Linked DNA regions of Homo sapiens: region 1 is linked to region 2. Evidence: promoter capture Hi-C in 16 types of primary human blood cells and fetal thymus (Javierre and others, 2016). All regions are on one chromosome and are shown on one strand. Each heading gives the region's core, a stretch centred on a gene start or on the middle of the fragment in contact. The rest is flanking DNA. Distances are from core to core; before and after follow the strand shown.

What was found. The method cuts DNA at HindIII sites, captures the fragments that hold promoters and counts their contacts. A CHiCAGO score of 5 or more calls a contact.
Region 1: a contact is called between a fragment that was not itself captured here and the fragment with the promoter of SEC23B in region 2, in 1 of 17 cell types (fetal thymus). The highest score is 6.1, in fetal thymus.

The regions. Positions count from the first base shown.
Region 1 is chr20:21,120,605-21,127,324 of GRCh38, reverse strand. It overlaps KIZ (kizuna centrosomal protein), which reads right to left and starts at 1,243. Exons shown (of 13, transcript NM_018474.6): 1 at 1,121-1,243. The coding sequence starts at 1,209. RefSeq lists enhancers at 725-774, 1,675-1,774 and a silencer at 935-1,514. The HindIII fragment of the contact is 481 bases long and covers 1,667-2,147 here.
Region 2 is chr20:18,504,485-18,511,701 of GRCh38, reverse strand. It overlaps SEC23B (SEC23 homolog B, COPII component), which reads right to left and starts at 3,762. Exons shown (of 20, transcript NM_006363.6): 1 at 3,730-3,762; 2 at 646-880. The coding sequence starts at 866. It also overlaps the pseudogene RPS19P1. RefSeq lists enhancers at 3,492-3,541, 3,892-4,221. The HindIII fragment of the contact is 4,172 bases long and covers 301-4,472 here.

The DNA.
Region 1 (6,720 bases), core at 658-3,157, 2.6 Mb before region 2:
AAGGCTCTACAGGAAGAGATTTCTTTTTAAAGTCAGAAATTAAGAGGTCACTGATATGGGTGAGCGGTGACATGTCAGAAAGAAAATAGGACGTAGAAAAGGAGTACAAGGTAAAAAAAATGCTAACGACAATTAAGGAAGCCTGTTGTAGATGCTCTATAAATATCTGACAAGAATTAAATCTAGCGTAAGATAAATGTAATTCCTTTTCAAAATCGCTCACTTCTGCCTTTATTTTCCATGTAATTATTGTTATCATTTTAGCACTGTCACGCACACAGCTCTCCTGTTCACTAGAATGATTTTGTAACTTTTAACACTCATTAAATGTTTTGTTTATCAAGAGATCCAAAAATGTATTTCCTTTCTTGTCAACTAATGAGAGTTACAACTCCAATTAACTTAGCAGCTAAATAAGAGGTCCAGCAATTTATCTTTTACGTGGTTATTCATAGTACATTGCGGTATAATTTTCTCTCTATATGCACTCTTAGATCTAGCTGTTTTCAGTGGTTCCCATCTTTCATATCTTAATCAAAGGCATCATGAACCCTCTGGAAGCTGGACTTCTCTAGCTGGAAATTTCATCCCTTCGCTGGAAATCTAGCCAGCCCTCGCTACCCCTAAAAGTCTCCTGAGTTTAAACGGGGGCACATGTTTGACACACACACACACAACCGTCTGCGTTCCAGGACTTGTCATCATTGATGCAGTGCAGCTGTCACGGCGGGATGGCAATTTGAAGAGAGTGGGGAGGGGGCGTGTAAAAGGGGACAAGAGAAACTCACAAGGCTTGATGGAGAGTGACAGGCAGAAGAACTCCCACCTTCACTTCTGGGCAAATTCTGTGACGCGGCCGCATCCTCAAACCGTAGACCAGGCTTTAGCTGCTATTGACGGGGCGGGGGCGGTCTCTCACCTCTCTCCGCTCCCACCCCCAATACAGGGGGTGGCTCTAGTAAACACTGTCCTCCAGGCCCCACTGGGAGCCTGGGGGGCGTTGCGCGCGGGCCTGGGCCCCGGGGAACCTCGGACGGGGGAGCGGGAAGGAAAATGGGGCAGGGCACGCGGAAGACCCCCGGCGCGGGCCGACTCCCCACCCCCGCCCCAGTGCCCTTACCTGTCCCGCAGCCCGTGCTGGAGTTGGCCCAGCCTCTCGTAGTAGTCGGGACTCGACAGGGGCACGGCCGATGCGAGGGTCCGGCTCATGCTGCTGCCGCTGCGCCAGCTCAGCACAGCCTCTGGGTGGCCGTTCGGCCGGGGTTGCCGAAGGAGACCGCCCCACCATGCACCGCGGGTAAACACCGCGCCGGGCCGCCTGCAGGAGGCGGGGCAAGACGCCGTGGGGGCGGGGCGCCGCTGAGGGACGGGGCGGAAGCCGGCTTTGTGGGGGGCGGGACGAAGACCTGCATGGGGCGGGGAAGAGGCGTGGCAGAGGCGGGGCGTCGTGAGGCCGGGGCGGACCACGTCGGAGGGGCGGGCGCTCGGTGCCCTCTCCTCTCTCCCTTGACGCGGTGTCTCCTTTCCCCTCACCTTCCAGGATTCGCACAAGCTACGTTAATGTTACAAGGCGCATTCCCTCCCTTTCTTTCGTCTCTCGCTTGCTTCTTTTCCTCGATCTCCTTTCTTGCCAGGATTTGTTGAGTGCCAGGCACTGTACTAAGCTTGTTCTATTATATCAGCACTCAAAAGCGACACAAAACACCAAGTAAAAAAAGACAAACCCTCAAATGCTAAACAGCCGTGCTCAGCCCCGACAGTGGACCAACCCCTTACTCGAAAATCCGTGCTGAATCTAAGGATTGTTCCAGGTGCCAGTATCGTTGGCGAGAGGGAAAAGTTGATAACTAGTTGCTTGGGAAGCAGACGTTTGTGCAGACAGCTCTAAGGGACAATGCTCCTAATGTCCTGTAGGATCCTCTAGCAGGAGCCCGGGAGCCAGACTGCCTGGGTGTACATTCCCTATCCACGTCCCAGCTGCCAAGCCGTGTGCAAGTCACCCCAGGTTTCCTCATATGTAAAGTGGGAGGCTGTTAACACAGGATTAGTTTAGGATTCGATTGTTAATATGTGTTAGTGTTTATAAGTGGGCCCAGCACATAGAAAGCATCAGGTTTTATTATCATCACCAACGTCGGGAAAAAGCTTCCTGAAGGAAGCCAACCATATTTCAAAACCCACTGGGCAGAAAAATTAAGCCTTAGCCTGCTTCTCTGCCTTCCTTTCCTTTTTTTTTTTTTTTTTTTTGAGACAGAGTCTCACTCTGTTGCCCAGGCTGGAGTGCAGTGGCGTGATCTCGGCTCACTGCAAGCTCTGCCTCCCGGGTTCAAAAGATTCTCGTGCCTCAGCCTCCTGAATAACTGGGATTACAGGTGTGCGCTACCACACCCAGATAATTTTTGTTTTTTTTGGTATTTTTTATATTTTAAGGAGAGACGGGGTTTCACCATGTTGGCCAGGCTGGTCTTGAACTCCCAACCTCAGGTGATCCACCCACCTTGGCCTCCCAAAGTGTTAGGATTACTTGCATGAGCCACCATGCCCGGCCTGTAGAGTTTCTTTAGTCTCTTATTGTTCACTTCTTTTGGTTTCTTTCCTATGCCATTAATTTTACTTACACATACAAGGTGCAAGGTGTGACAAACTAAAATTGTAAGAGAGATGGAACACTCAAAGGCCAACAACACAAAACTATGATTTTACTCAGCCTTCCATTCACATTTGCCAGTTCCAGGGCAAGAGTGTGAATGGAGGCCCTCATACCATCCGCCTAAATATTGAATTATAATTCAAGATAACAAACTTAGGTAAAATACGTGTTCTCCTCTCCACTTTGACCAATATGCCTTCTTAAGAACCTGGACAACCAGGGTGGAATTTAGTTTGCCTGCTTCTCCAGCTCCCCCCAACTCCATTTCCCACCCCAGGCTCAGTCTTGCTTTGTGAGGGGGTCTCATACACTAGCAGGGATGTGTGTGCCCTGCCTCTTCTCCTCCTCTTCTCCAGCCAGCAAGTCCCAACTCTGCCTACATCCCCACCTCAGCCTCCTCTTGGCCGGGCAGTGAGCATGCCAGTGATGGTCACCCTTGCAGGAAAGACCCAGCCAAGAGGCCTTTTAAAGCCTTAGAAAGCAGCTTGGGCCCCTTTGAGCAGGGAAGGTAAGGGTGTTGGGTACTTAGAACGTGTTCTAGAAGAGCATGTGTGTGTATGTGTGTGAGCACCCCAGGTGGGCCTGTCATCTGGCCCTGGGACCTCCTTGCCTTGCGTGGAGCAGCATGGGCAGAGAAGGGCTAGAACAGAACCTCTAATACACAGAAGCCAGGGCAGAGGCCTTCTTGCCCTGGTCCAAGGGTAGCACTGATGTGACTTTTATTTAGTTTTTATTCAGATTATATCCAATTGATTCAGTGGTAATGTGCAAAGGTTTATTTTAATGAGTTTAGTGTAACTAACATTTTACTACAACCCTGGCAAAGAAAAGAAAAGCATTAAATTTTTAGGATATTTTATTTAGGACCATGCCCCCAGGGTTAGTTTTTTTTTTTAAGAAAAAGAATCCCCAAACAATTAATATAACTAATTTTAGCAAGTAGCACAGAGTAAGCAGATGAGGCAGTCATTTAGCACCCAAAATTTTTATTAGGCCATTTTAGGAGAATCTAAAATTAAATGTAATTAAACAGTAAATAGATAATTCAAAATAATTATAATTTACATCCTATGGTTGATTCATTAATGACGTATGACAAATCTAGATGTAGGATCTCCTTTATTAACAATAACACATAGCAAACAAAAGGAATATTTCTAGAGTATTTATGCTAAAATTATGCATTTTAAATGGTGACAGGCTTTCAATAAATTCTGAGTTCTTCACTTTGAATATTTAATTTGCCAGAGCCCTCTATTTTAATATTTTTCTTCAAACTCTTTATTTAGCTGAGCTGATTTCTGTAAGCAGCCCTGCTTTTAGCTCACTGGACCAAGGGTCATCAAGTCTGCCTAGATCAAGGCTTCCTCTAAGTCCTAGAATGTCTTAGCTAGAACTTAGAGGGAGTCTAGCCCCACCCCCTTGTTTTACAGGGGAAAAAGGGTTCAGGGCAGATAAGGGGCTTGGCCAAAGTCACCTAGCTGGAAATCTATGTAATATTAACGAGTCTAGTTCAAAATATGGATCCCTAGTGGTCCCATTAAGCAAACAGCAAGGGAAGCCAGTGTCTCGGCCCAGAAGTCACATGAATCTTTGGGTGAACCAAATGAAATTGTTGTTTTTGTAGCTCAAAAACAAAATTGATTCTGGAAAATATATTGAAATTAGAATTGTACATATATTCTAATATTGGGAAATTCTAATTTCAACATATTTCCATATATATGTATATATACATTACATTTACCAGTTTATTATAAGAATATCACAAAAGATACAGATGAAAAGATTCATAAGGTGAGGTCTGGGGGAAGGGGTGTAGAGGTTCCATGCCCTCCACGGGCACACCACCCTCCAGGAACCTCCTCCACATGTTCAGCCAGCTCAGAAGCTTCCTGAACCCTGTCCCCTTGGGTCTTTTATGGGGACTTTATTGGATAGGCATGATCGACAGTCGTGTAGAAGCGTGATTGGACAAAGGGGACATGATCTAACACTAATTGAGTGGGAAACCCAACAAGTCCTGTTCTGATTCATCTCGGCCTCTCAATGCAGCAGAAATTTTTTTTTTTTTTGAGACGGAATTTCACTCTTGTTGCCCAGGCTGGAGTGCAATAGCATGATCTCAGCTCACCGCAACCACTGCCTCCCTGGTTCAAGCGATTCTACTGCCTCAGCCTCCTGAGTAGCTGGGATTACAGGCATATGCCACCACGCCTGGCTAATTTTGTATTTTTAGTAGAGACAGGGTTTCTCCATGTTGGTCAGGCTGGTCTCGAACTCCCAACCTCAGGTGATCCACCTGCCTTGGCCTCCCAAAGTGCTGGAATTACAGGCGTGAGCCACTGTGTCTGGCCTGCAGTAGCATTTTATATTTTAAAATGTACACACTATGCTGCTTTTAATTAAATCATGTATATTTAGTCAATAACTGCTTGGATATTATATTAATTTGCTAGGGCTGCTGTAAGAAAGCTCCACAAACTAGGTGTCTTAAACAACATGATTTATTGTGTTTCAGGTCTGGAGGCTAGAAATTGAAGATCAAGATATCTGCATGGCTCGTTCTTTCTGAGGGCTGTGGGGAAGAATCTGCCGCATGCCTCTCTCCTGGCTGCTGGTGGTTTGCAGGCTATCTTTGGTGTTCCTTGGCTTCTAGACACATCATCTTGACCTCTGCTTTCATGTTCACATGGTGTTCTACCTGTGTATGTGTCTCCAAATTCTGCCTTTTTATGAAGGCACCAATCATATTGGATTAGACGCCCACCCTTCCCCAGTATGATCTCATCTTAACTAATTACATCTGCATTGACCCTGTTTCCAAAGAAGACTGCATTTTGAGGTACTGAGAGTTAGAACGTCAACATATGTATTGTGCAGGGGACACATTTCAATCCATGATAGATATGAAAGTAGGACAAGATTTCATTTTGCAGTCATTATGCAGACATATCCAATCTGGTAGCCATTAGCCATGGCTATTGGGCAATTGAATATGGCTAGTGCAACTGAGAAATTGAATTTTTAATTTAATTTTTATTTATTTATTTATTTTGAGATGGAGTCTCACTCTGTTGCCAAGGCTGGAGTGCAGTTGTGCAATCTCAGCTCACTGCAACCTCTGCCTCCTGGGTTCAAGCAATTCTCCTGCCTCAGCACCCTCTAACAACTGGGATTACAGGCACACACTACCACACCTGGCTAATTTTTGTATTTTTAGTAGAGACAGGGTTTTGCCATGTTGACCAGGCTGGTCTCGAACTCCTGACCTTAGGTGATCCACCCTCCTCAGCCTCCCAAAGTCCTGGGATTACAGGTGTGAGCCACTGGGCCCAGCCAAATTTAATTTTATTTTAATAATTAAAATTAAAATTTAAGAGGCTACATGTAGCTAGTAGCCACTTTGTTGAACCATGCAGATCTAAAGATGAAGTAGAAAGATGGATAAACATGGAACAGGGAGAGGGAGGACATAAATCACTGGGAAGTGGAAAGATAAGAATAGAAGGTAAGATGCCATCCTTGCTGGGAGGTTGATATGGTTTTGTTCTGTGTCCCCACCCAAATCTTGAATTGTAATACCCCTGTGTCGAGGAAAGGACCTGGTGGGAGGTAATTGCTGTTCTTGTGGTAGTGAGGAAGTTCTTATGAGACCTGGTTGTTTGGTAAGTGTCTGCCAGTTTCCACTGAGAGCTTGCTCTCTCTCTGTCTCTCTCTCTCTGTCTCTCTCTCTCGCCTGCTGCCATGTAAGACATGCCTTGCTTCCCCTTCCGCTATGATTGCAAGTTTCCTGAGGCTTCCCCAGCCATGCAGCAATTAAACATCTTTTGTTTATAAATTACCCAGTCTCAGGTAGTATCTTTATAACAGTGTGAAATGGACTAATATAGAGGTGATGGTCATCAAGAGGAGAGGTGTGATTGTGAATTTATTTTATGTGTCAACTTGGCTAGGCCATGGTGGTCAGTTGCTTTATCAAACACCAGTCTAGACATGACTGTGAAGACTTTTTTTTTAGATGTTGTTAATATTTGAAGCAGTAGGCTTTGAGGAAAGTAGACTGCTCT
Region 2 (7,217 bases), core at 2,513-5,012:
CTACATTTAGAAAATTAATAACCAGTGGCTATGCATTCACATATGGGCACATTAAATAAAAGCAATGAGAATGAAGTAAAAAATGTTCCCTCATATAAAAATTTTATGACACTCTCTACCTGTTTAAAAATCATTTCAAATAATGCCCACATTTAAAAGAAATAGGTCACTATCTCAGGCACAAAAAAAAAAAAAATTACACTTAACAAATTGTTAACAGTTAAAATTTCTTCTGCCTGCTACTTCTCCTTGCCATATAGCATCACTGTACCCGGGAAGCATGAGAAGACGGTCTAAGCTTTCGAATTCTTCTGGGAAATTACTTTAAGAGGAATCAATAAAGTCTACAGTTAAGCCAAAAGCAAACTGATTATCAGCCAAAAAAAAAGTGAATTACAAATCCTCTCCCTCTACCTCTACCTCATTCCTGTAAGATTCCAATTTTATCTGGAATTATCAGGCCAGGGAGATTTCTACAAATATTCACCACTTACTACTCACCACAAGAATCGTTTAGGAGTCTCATCATCTACTACTTATCACAAATTTGATGACCTGCCCAAATTTAATGACTTTTATGAGCATCACATAAAATTCATAATATATTGTATTTATCATTTTTACCAGTTTCAAAAGAATCCATACCAAAGTGGGTTGAGAACAGCTTTACAAGTTGGCCTGCTGCAAAGCACAGGTTCATATTGTACAGGAGGTAGGTCTGGACGTTCTTTCAAAGGAGTAAGGAGACAAGCCAGGGGTACAACCATTCTTGTAGCCTCCAGCCGGCTGGAAGGCCACACGTTCCAACTAAAACGCACACCATCCCGTTCTTCATTCTGCTGGATGAACTCCAGGTATGTCGCCATAGTCTAAAAGGGAACTGAAGATAAAACTTTAATTACCTTAATGGTATGTGAAATTCTGAACTAAATGTCAAAAAAAGAAGATGGGTCATGTAACACAGTGTTTCTCTTTTTTTCCCATCTCAGCTCACTGCAGCCTCCACCTCCCGGGTTCAAGCGATTCTCCTGCCACAGCCTCCCAAGTAGCTGGGATTACAAGCCTGTGCCACCAAGCCCGGCTAATTTTTTGTATTTTTAGTAGAGGCAGGGTTTCACCATGTTGGCCAGGCTGGTCTCAAACTCCTGACCTCAGGTGATCCACCCGCCTTGGCCTTCCAAAGTGCTGGGATTACAGGCGTGACCCACTGTACCCGGCCCAACTAACACAGTGTTTCTTAAATACTTGGGAAGAACCTGTTGCTGTAGAATGACAGTATTTCTTTTCCATCTGATACCCAAAAGTCAGTTAACCGCACAGTTATCATTGATCACTGCTCCTTTCTCACCTCTCCTTTCAAGCACTTAAAAATAAATCAAAGGAGTGGGAGGTTTACAATCACCTGATCATCTCCAAACTACATGTAGTTAAACACTACTACTTCAAACCTCCTCACAGATCACACGTCCTATCAGTCAAGCCAATTTCAGCCCCTTGCTCAAGGGTAAGTCTTGAACCCTGTTTCGGCATCCAACTATCTTCCTCTCTAATCTCCTTCCTTTCTTCCTCTATTAAATTTTACATTCCAAGTGATTTTTTTTTCAGTAGCGGGGGGGTGCTCATTCCCTTCCGCACTTTGTTAACTTTGGAGAAAAGAGCTGGATACTGATCTTCAAGTTTGGTTCATAATGGGAACCAGTTTTGAGCTAAATTATTTCTACTTGGTATTACCAAAATTACTATTATGCTGAGTCTCACCAGAACCTCTTTCCTCACCACGGTTGCTTATGTTCATGCCTTGACAGGCTGTGGTCAAGGCCAGGTGTGGTGGCTCACACCTATACTCGCAGCACTTTGGGAGGCTGAGATGGGCGGATCACGAGGTCAGGAGTTCAAGACCAGCCTGGCCAACACAGTGAAACTCCGTCTCTACTAAAAATACAAAAATTAGCCAGGTGTGGTGGCACGTGCCCATAGTCCCAGCTACTCAGGAGGTTGAGGCAGGAGAATCGTCTGAACTCGGGAGGCAGAGATTGCAGTGAGGCGAGACAATGCCATTGCACAGCCTGGGCGACAGAGCCAGACTCTGTTTCAAAAAAAAAATGAAGACTGTGGTCAGTAAAACTGTCCTACAGGCTAAACTCTCAAACCCAGATGATCCCAACTTCATTGAGTATTTATACATCCTGTTCATATCCTAAAATCTAGGGTAACACACAACTCAGCTATTGGGGTTCAAGGGAACAAGCCCCTCAAGAAAAGTAGTAAAAAGGCAAATTAAAGAGTCTATCAAATTAAAGTGGCCTCTCGCGCCCACTTCCTGAATATGGATAACAACTGTCTGTTATTTTGGGAAGTACCATACTGTAAATAATTTTGATTAAGGCAATAATATTGCATGGCTAGAAAAGCAAATGAATTACTCTACTACATAAAGCCCAGAACACAAGAATTCCAATGTTTGCTCCAACTGAAACTCTAAGAAATCTGTTTATTTCTGGCAACGGCAAGAACCTGAAGCACTGTGTGCACAGGAAGCACTCTGGAGCTTCATGGGAAGCAAAGGGATAACTAAAGTCGGAATGAAAGCAAGTTCTATCACAACTCTCAGCAAGTATGTCAGCAGATTTCATTAAATAACCGTCTCTCTCTCAAAACGTTCTTTATTAAAAGGCACTGGCGGCCGGGCGCGGTGGCTCACGCCTGTAATCCCAGCACTTTGGGCGACCGAGGCCGGTGGATGACCTGAGGTCAGGAATTCAAGACCAGCCTGGCCAACATGGCAAAACCCCGTCTCTACTAAAAATACAAAAATTAGCTGGGCGTGGTGGCAGGTGCCTGTAATCCCAGCTACTCGGGAGGCTGCGGCAGGGAGGACTGCTTGACCTTGGGAGGCATTGGTTGCAGTGAGCCGAGATCACGCCACTGCACTCCAGCCTGGGCGACAGAGCGAGACTCCATCTCAAAAAAAAAAAAAAAAAAAAAGAAGCTACTGCCTCCATCTAATGGTTTCCAAGCATGTACAGCCTAAGACCTGCTCCCTCCTTTTCCTACTGCCTGTTTCCCTCACCCTTCTAGGGTCTGGATTCTTAGCAGTGGACACATAATCCAAGGGGACTATAGAAGGTCCACTAATCATCTGAAGTTATGCGCATGAGGGAATATGCCGTTTTTCTAGGGAGATGGGTCCATAGCTTTTACCAAAGTATCGGGGAAGGTATCTGAAGAGGTAAATAACTGAAAGTATGAATTAGTGAATGAATGAAAGGCCTGGAAAGATAACAGGAGAATATGCCAAAAAATCTGAACCACCCTTATCGCGCCAACTCGTAACTTCTCAGGACACAGTGACCATGTGTATGTAAGAATAAGTGAGGTTTAATCCTTGAAGGGAGTCCAAGGACCTGGGTTCCAGTTCCAGCTGTCATGAAGCAAAAGTCGTTTCACTTGTCTGAGTCTTGAGTTTCTCAACTATAAAACGGGACTTGGGTCCTTCCAGGTGTGCGCACTCCGCAATTCTGGGGAAACTGGAGCCAGAAATCGGTCCCGGCCTGGTGCGGGACGACATCCGCAGGGGACTCCCGGATCATCCATTCCCCCGCTACCCTAAACTGTCAAGAAAAGGCCTCCTCCCAGAAGCCGCTCACCTCGCCCCCGGCAGAAACTCATACCCGTGCCCTCGGCCCTCCGTCACCTATGCGCCCCGCTCACCTGGCCGGAGCCGCTCACCTAGCTAGAGCCGTCCTCACCCACAGCTGCAACAAGCAGGCTCCGGCTCCCACCGCCAAGTCCAGCTCAGCTCTCAACCGATTGGCCAGCGCCCCAGCGCGTCATGCCACGGCGCTGTCCACTGGCCAATCAAAGAGCGCTTCTCCGACGGACTGGAGGAAGCGAGAGACTCAGAGAAGCTCTGCCACCATCTTGGAACAGGGCAAGACAGGTGTATGTCGCACTTCAAAACGAGAGTTCCTCGGAACACGTTTCCCCACCCCTAAACGTTTCTGTTTCAGAAAACCCCGGCGCCTGCCGCACCGTTGCCTAAGCGCAGCCAGCGCTCCTCAGAGGTTCGCCCTGATACAATATGACATCCGCTCGTCTCAGTGGGAAGTCCCGCTGATCGCCTTAGCTACCGGAAAGCGAGAACGATGACGTATGCTCGCGGAACAGGGAGCTGCACTGGTTGGAAGAAACTAAGGCTGCCGGAAGAAGGCATTAGCATGCGGAAGGGGCGGGGCGGGTGGTGAGCGCGGCGGCGCTTACGCACTTGCTGGTTTGGGAGTCGGTCTCTGTGGTTAAGTTTGAAGTACAGAGGTGTGGTGGTGCTTCACGTTACAAGCTCTCCTACCGTCGCTTGCTGTAATGTCTTGGCGCTCTCAGCGGAGGCTGGCACTAGCGCACAGTCCCTGTCATCCTTCTACATGGAGATAAATAATTGAGAACTGTAATATTCAACCATTTTAGGAGAGTAAGCTTAGAAATACATGGAACATAACTTTCTTTTAAAAAATAATTCCAACGTTTAGATTTAGGGGGTACACTGCGTATTTGTTACCTGGCTATGAGGTTTCGAATTCGAATGAGCTGGTCACCCAGATACTGAGCATAGTACCCAAGTTTTTCAGCCCCTCCCTGCCTCCCTCCCCACTCTAGTAGTCCCCAGCGTCTATTAATGTCACCTTTGTGTCCATGTGTGCCCAATGCTTAGCTCCCACTTTCAAGTGAGAACATGTATTTGGTTTTCTGCTTCTGCGTTAATTCTTTTAGGATCATGGCCTCCAGATGCATCCATGTTGCTGCAAAAGGCGCGATAGAACACAACTGTATAAAGCCACCACAACCATTTTTACACACGCTGACAAGTGGCAAACATGAACACATCATTACTGTGACTCAGAGTTGTAGTCTCTGTAGCATATAAAAATAAGCAAAACGATGTAAACATAAAATTATGCAAGAACATATCTAGGCATCCAAGAAGTATCCATTAATTAGCTCAATTTAATACTAAGTTTTAAGTTATCTACAGATCATAGAAATTATTAATAGTTTAAGGCACAAAGAAACAATTACTGTTAAATGTGAGAATGATTCAGTTTTGTTGAACAAATTCACATTTTTCAGGATCTTAAACAATGTAATGTTAATATTAGCTTATCAATAGTAAACTTTTATAAATTTAGGAAGTTCAGATTAATTATTCTCGGTAAGGAAACAAACTCAAAATGTACACATGTATAATACTTAACACTGAGAAAAGACATAGCTGGGATTTTTTTTAACCAAAACTTAATATTATTCGCCAAAGATTTGCCTTGATTATTTGAACCTGGATTCTTTCTGTACTAGCAATTTCTGTAAGAAAGATTGTTATAGGACCATCAGGTTCGATTGTCCATTGTGCGGTAACAGAAAGAATAGGAGTTGCAGCAGATAAAGAGTTCCATAATCAAGTGGCAGCCAAATGAGGAGACAAGAGCAATCCTCAAATCCACCTCCCCAAGAGATTAGAGATGGCATTTTTAAGAAGTCTGGAGGGGCAATGGGCTAAAGTGTGGGGATTTCTGATTGGTCAGGAAGTGAGAGGTGAAGTCATGGGACAGGGAGATGAAGAAACTTCATTCCAGTGTTGTTTCTTGGTGGAGGTCTTTATTTATTTATTTAAAAAAATTTTTTTTTTGTAAAGCAGGGTCTCACTTTGTTGCCCAGGCTAGTCTCAAACTCCGGGCTTCAGGCGATCCTCTCACCTTGGCCTCCCAAAGTGCTAAGATTACAGGCGTGAGCCACTGTGCCCTTCCTGGTGGGGATCCCTAGACAGTTTGGCATCAGCTGTTTTGTGGGAATTCAGGATCTGAAAAATACCTTAAGCAATTCCTGGGTACAAAGAGCTAGTGTCAGAGATTCTGTGGATAGGAGCAATCAGGGAGTAGGTGATCAGTGTGCTGCAAGGCTTTTGGTTAGTTAGCAGCTGCAGGGAAGTGAATTGAAGGGCACCAATGCACCCTGGTCAGTGCCTAACTAACCTGCCTAAAGGCTGGCTTGTAATCTTGTTAACCCTGTCAGGATGGTTTCAGCATTTTTAAGAAATTTTGCATGCATAAGTTTAATTTACTTATTTTCTGGAATTTTAGAAATAATTGATTTACATGTGTTTGTTTCCATAAGTGAATTATAACAGAGCTCCTTTAAGACATGAAATAATATAACTTATTAAAACTTTACAAAGGTAGTAAGATTTTTTTACTCCCACAACAAGAGGGGAAGGCCTTTGTTGATTACAGCCGGGAAGACACATAGACACATAGCATATAGCTTTGGTTCTGCAACTTTGGCCACAGGTCGAAAGTAAATTCAGAAACATAAAAATTCAGTGGACTAGATAACAAAAAGCTGTTCTCCTTCCCAATGGGCATGGAAGTCTTAACTGATTTGAACTCATAAGTAGACAAAAAGGCAAACAAACAAAAAGACTAACAAACCAGATTTTTCATCATCTCTTATCCAAAAGAGAATAGATCTCTAAAAACTATTAATTCACTTAAAGAGATCACCAAATGTTCAGAATGTAAAACCTAGTTCCTAATTTTTTTTTTTTTTTCTGAATGAGGCAATGTATTAACCCAGCATGGTTTGTTCCAATGCTTCTTGTTGGCAGCTGCCACCTGTCCGGCAATTCTGCCCAGATCTCTCTGTCCCTGAGGTGTCAGTTTGCGGCCCCCATCTTGGTCCTTTTCCACCATTTTCAGCCCCTCCAGGGCTTGGAGGACCCGGCGGAGGACACTCTTGAAGCCTCGGCCGAAGTGGCTGGGCATGACGCCGTTTCTCTGACGTCCCCATAGATCTTGGTCATGGAGCCAACCCCAGCGCCACCCTGGAGGTACAGGTGCCGCGCTGTGGAACCGGCTCGTGTGTAGAACCAGTTCTCAACGTAGGGAGGAAGCTCTTTGTGCTTGGCCAGCTTGACGGTGTCCACCCATTCGGGGACTTTCAGCTTCCCGGACTTTTTGAGAAAGGCTGCCAGAGCTCTGACGAAGTCCCGCTGGTTCACGTGGTTTACAGGAACTCCAGGCATCGTGCGGCTTCCGCGCTGCCAGCCAGGGGAAAGGGAGCAACGGGGTTTCCCGCGAGTTCCTAATTGGTGTCGCCATTCATGGGGAAAAATCCGCCAGCTGTGGGCGAATCAGAAACAAAACCCAAAATCAGTAAGGAGGAGAAAGAAA